Linked DNA regions of Homo sapiens: region 1 is linked to region 2. The links are contacts of gene promoters, found by promoter capture Hi-C in blood cells and fetal thymus (Javierre and others, 2016). All regions are on one chromosome and are shown on one strand. Each heading gives the region's core, a stretch centred on a gene start or on the middle of the fragment in contact. The rest is flanking DNA. Distances are from core to core; before and after follow the strand shown.

Region 1 (2,700 bases), core at 87-2,586, 310 kb after region 2:
ATTTGTTTATAAATCCCTAGTTTCCATTCAGTTTTTTCAATATTTATCAAACACCTACTGTGCCAGGCATTGTTTAGGCACAGGGGATACAGCAGGAGAACAAAATGAACAAAATTTTTTGCCTTCACAGAGCTTAAAATTTAGCCGGGCTTGGTGGTGCACACCTGTGGTCCCAGCTACTTGGGAGGCTGAGGCAGGAGAATTGCTTGAACCCGGGAGGCAGAGGTTGCAGTGAGCCATGATCATGCCAGCCTGGGCAACAGAGTGAGACTCCGTCTGAAAAAAGAAACACACACACACACACAGACACACACACACACAAAGACAGCATATACTCTAGTAAGGGGAGACAGACAGCAAACAGATAAGTAAAATATTAAACATAATAGAAGGCGATAAATGCTCTAGAGAAATAGAAAGCAGGGAAGGGGGAAACAGAGGGGTTTGCAGTTTTACATTAAATGGTAAGGGAAGGCCTCACTGAGAAGGTGACATCTGAGTAAGGAGGTATGATATTAAGCAATATAGACATGAGGGTATGAGGTGGGCATGTTCAAGACTAAGTGAACAGAAAAAACAAAAGTCCTGAGGTTAGAGTGTGCCTGGTGAGTTTAGGGAGCAGCAAGAAAGCTTCTGTGACTGGAAAGGAGTTGTTAAAATGAAGATTAGTGGATGAGTTCAAAGAGATTATGGTGGGTGGTGTTGGGGAGGGGTGAAATGGGATTCACCAAGGGTTTTATAGGCATTGTAAGGACTTTGGTTTTTATTCAGAGTGAGATGGTGAGCCATTTAAGCAAAAGGAGATGAACTCTTTTTTTTTCTTTTTTTTTTGAGACGGAATTTTGCTCTGTTGCTCAGGCTGGAGTGCAATGGCACCATCTCGGCTCACTGCAACCTCTGCCTCCCGGGTTCAAGCGATTCTCCTGTCTCAGCCTCCTGAGTAGCTGGGATTACAGGTGCATGCCACCATGCCCAGCTAATTTTTGTATTTTTAGTAGAGACAGGGTTTCATCATATTGGTCACGCTGGTCTCGAACTCCTGACCTCAAGTGATCCGCCCGCCTCAGCCTCCCAAAGTGCTGGGATTACAGGCGTGAGCCACCACGCCTGGCACTCGTTTGTTTTTAAAAGGTTATTCTTGTTTCTGCTGGAACAGGGATACCAATTAGATGGCTATTGTAATCCAGTGTAAAATATTGATGGCTTGGACCAGGTTATGGCCAGCGGAAGTGATAAGTAATTTAATTCTAGATCTATTTTGAAAGTAGGTCCAGCCAGATTTCTAGGTGGATTAAATGTGGGGTGAGAGAGGAGGAGAATAATCAAGAATGACTTTTTTTTTTTTTTTTTTTTTAGCTTGAGCAACTAGAAAGATAAGAGTTGACATTTATTGATATGGGGAAGGCTGTGAGTGGAGCAGATTTTGGGAAGAAGATGAGAAATTTAGTTTTGGATGTGTTAGGTTTGGGATGTCTATTTTAAGAAATCTTTTTTAAAGATATAATTCACAAAAAATATACTCATTTAAAGTGTACAATTCAATTGTTTTAGTATATTCATAGAGTTGTTCAGCAATCACCATAGCGTGTCTAGTATATGGATTGTTTTTAGAGCCAGGAAGCTGGAAGAGATCAACTAGAGAGAGAGTGTAGATAGGGAAGTAAGTCTAGTAAGATAGAGCAGCAAGTACAGATATAGAAGAGGTCCAGAGAGAAGGCTATGGTATTATGAAATCTCTATTTGGTCTCTGTCCCATTTCCTGGCATACTACTTCAAAAATCCTTGGGTCTTCAAGGTGATAAGTGTCATTTTGTATGCTAATGAGTTGACTGATGGTTGGCATCCCCTGGGTAGCCTAAGGATGGGGGCTGGTCACTGGAAAGAATAAGGCAGGACTAGAGGTTGTGACTTTCCGCCCTACCATCTAACCTCTGGGGAAGGGAGAAGAGCTGAAGGGGTAAACTGAACACCAGTGGCCAGTGGTTTAATTAATTATGCCTTCATAACGAAACTTCCATAAAAATCCAAAAGGACTGGTTTTGGGAAGCTTCTAGACAGCAAAACATATGGAGGTTCCTGGAGGTTGGCATGCCCAGAAAGAACCTAGAAGCTCTGCACTCTTAGCCCTACCTTGCCCCCTCCATCTCTTCATCTGGTGTTCATTGGTGTCCTTTGTTATGTCCTTTATAATTAACCAGTAAACGTGTTTCCCTGAGTTCTGTGAGCTGCTCAAGCAAATTAATGGAACCCAAGAAGGGGGTTGTGTGAGCCCCGATTTATGGTGGTTGGGTCAGAGCAAATGTTAACCTGAGATTTGTGATTGGCATGGGAAGTGGGGGGCAGTCTTGTGAGACTGAGCACTCAGTCTGTGGGATCTGATGCTCTCTTCCAGTGTCAGAATTGAATTGGAGGGCACCTAGCTGGTGTTCATTGCAGAATTGCTTGCTTGGTGTGTGTGGGGAGAACTCTCATACATTTGGTCAAAGAAGTCTTTGTTGATTGTTGAATGAGAATGTAGGAAAAGCACTTTTAAGTTTGTTTATTCTCTATTCTCAGAAGGCTGTTGGGGCATTCTAGTATTTTAGATGACTCTTTCTACTTAGTCTAGTGTGTTATTGGCTTAGGTTCTTTTTGAGGTTCAAGGTAAACTTTGTCTCAGCCCCCCAAAGAAGTAATAAATCTATTTTGGTCTCTTGCGTA
Region 2 (2,700 bases), core at 53-2,552:
TCTCTTATATTTCAGTAGTTTCTGATCTCCCTTAAGGGATTTGAGAATTATATATAATATTGCATAATCTTAAGCTGATTAATGTTAAAGTGCTATTGGTCTATTTTAACTGTGTACTTCTTAAAATATAATGAAAGAATTTATTTGGTAATCCTGAATCTATTGACCTCACAAACACTGGTCATTATTTTGGTGGAAATATTCATAAGCATTTTTAGTTACTGATTTCTAACAATTGTTTCTTATTATCTTCCTGATTTTACAATTCCCCAAAGTAAAGGTGCGAAAAACAAACATCTACCCTCCTTTTCGACAAATGCCATGATAGAGGGGAGACCTGTGTGGTGTAAAGACAAATGCAGACATTTGGAAGTTGATGGTTTTAAGATTCAGTAAAAACTTGAGAGTTTTGGCTTCAAATCCCCACGCTAGTTTTAGTTCTACCGGATACGTGTCCCCTACCCATTTCAAAGGACCCAGTCACCTCGGCTCTTGCCTGAGTTTCAGAGTCCCGCCGGAGTTAGAGCTGGCAGAGTCCAATTGCTCAGAGCGCCGAGGCGGGGGCGGGGCAGGGGGACGCTTGCAGGTCCGGTGGTCCCGCGGGCTGCGAGCCCCCACGGCCGACCCTAGCTGCAGACCCTCCTGGAGAACCTCAGGCCTTTCCCCCAGAAACATCCCTAAAAGGCGTTCCCTTTGTTCATTCATTCAACAAATATTTGTTCAATCTCATATGCCCCTCTGTCTTGGGAAAACCAATTAGGGCCTCTGCAGCCTCAACACAGGGGCACTGTTCCCGCCTATTAATGACGCAATGAACCCGGGAAGACGAATCTCGACCACTGTTTCGCAAATACCGCGTGTGATTTATTAAATGCCGTCTCTCCGAGTCCCAAGCGGCCGGGAGCATTATGCCACCTCCCTTGCCCTCATCTCTCACTGCCATGCAAGAAAGCGTTAATGGCAAATAGGGCACGTAGCCACACTCCGTCGTTCCTGCTTCCAAGCAAACCTTGTGCCAGGTTCCTCATTTCGCGAGGCTCCACTCTCTTGGGCTTCAGGCTGCCGCTGGGCCTCCAGCACCAAAGGGCAATAGGGGTCTGAGAGTCCGGGCCTCAGGCATCTTCAGGCCGCAGGTGGGTGGAGAATAACGCCCGCGCGTGGCAGCGGCCCAGGCCGTCTCAGCCGGATTTTTCCATCCCCGGGGTAGGCTTGGTCCCCTGTACACTCCAGCGGAACTACAACTCCCAGCACCGTGGCTGCCCGGACTCCCGGAAGCCGAATCCCGGCTGGGAGGAAGCAGCTGAGACCCGGCCAACAGACTGGGGGTTAATTTAGCCAGAAAAGGGGGCGGGAAGGGCTGTAGGGTACTTGTCAATTCGCCGCCATGAACGTGGTTTTTGCTGTGAAGCAGTACATTTCCAAAATGATAGAGGACAGCGGGCCTGGTATGAAAGTACTTCTCATGGATAAAGAGACGGTGAGTTTGCTTTTGCTCAGCATTTGTGAAGGAACCCTCTCAACCTTACAATTGCTCGTCCCATTCCACTGTAGGACTTAGCATTTAATTAAACATACGAAAATGAGGGTCGGTTTGTGTGGAATTGAAAAGTTGTTTATATAAAGCTTGCCCGGTGGGTTTTCAGTCTACATGGCTCCAGCCACTGCCTAGAGACTACTTCTACCCGGAACAATTTATTGGAATCAGAAATCCTTTTCTAAATGTCCCCGCCAAGAAATCATTAATATGTCAGAGCACTTGGAAGGCTTTGGGATGGGCCTACTGTTTCCACTCAACATTGTGTTTTTAAAGTAAAGCTGTTGGAGCTCAAGCTGAAATGACAGATTATTTGTTGGCCACAGACCAGAAAACAAAACTCTTTAAGGTGATAGAAAAAAATATTTTTGGAAACTTATGGATTGTTCCTGTTCAAAGAGACCATGTTTTTTGTTTTTAATCTTGAAGCTTCAGCTGAAAGGATAGAGCGTATTTTTCATTCTCGTATGTTACCTACCTGTTTGGATGTTCAGTAAATGTTTTCCGTATATTACTATTTAAGTTATCCAGCTAAGTATTAATGAAAAAAGAGGGTTAGATGTGCTACTTGTTTTTATTATTCTAGACTAGCATACTTTTAGTTAATCTTTTGTTTTTACAGACTGGCATAGTGAGTATGGTATACACACAATCGGAGATTCTACAGAAGGAAGTGTACCTCTTTGAACGCATTGATTCTCAAAATCGAGAGATCATGAAACACCTGAAGGCAATTTGTTTTCTTCGACCTACAAAGGTACTGCATAAACTGAGCTTCCATCTGCCCAGGCAGATGCAGAACACTCTGATCTGAAAGCATTAAGAAGGCAAAATAAATTTGTATTATCATAATTTGTGGCATCATAATTATCCTGGTTCATCAGTGTTATAACCTTCATTTTTCTTGTTTTGTTTCCATATTTCAGTTGACCCCTTACAGCCAGTTCTTCCTTCAAGATGTTTTTTAGGTTCACAGCCATTCCCATTGCCACTAATGAACTACTCTTAACGGAGACCCACATTACTTTATTCCTGGATTAACCTCCGTATCTGTCACATTGAACACCATCAACACTTAATTTTATATACAGCTATGAGTGTCTTGAATCTTTGCCACTTTATTCACATTTATGCTCAGGAACCTGTGGTGGCTTGATGTTACTTCC

What was found. The method cuts DNA at HindIII sites, captures the fragments that hold promoters and counts their contacts. A CHiCAGO score of 5 or more calls a contact.
Region 1: a contact is called between a fragment that was not itself captured here and the fragment with the promoter of VPS45 in region 2, in 2 of 17 cell types (M2 macrophages and fetal thymus). The highest score is 5.8, in M2 macrophages.

Annotation. Positions count from the first base shown.
Region 1 is chr1:150,372,201-150,374,900 of GRCh38, forward strand. The region is part of intron 1 of RPRD2 (regulation of nuclear pre-mRNA domain containing 2); the gene reads left to right. Among named protein-coding and RNA genes, the nearest start is that of RPRD2, 9.4 kb to the left of the region's middle. The HindIII fragment of the contact is 1,417 bases long and covers 629-2,045 here.
Region 2 is chr1:150,066,474-150,069,173 of GRCh38, forward strand. VPS45 (vacuolar protein sorting 45 homolog) reads left to right here and starts at 1,303. Exons shown (of 15, transcript NM_007259.5): 1 at 1,303-1,477; 2 at 2,157-2,291. The coding sequence starts at 1,385. It also overlaps a transcript of OTUD7B not described here. RefSeq lists a silencer at 480-719 and an enhancer at 930-1,259. The HindIII fragment of the contact is 1,692 bases long and covers 1-1,621 here.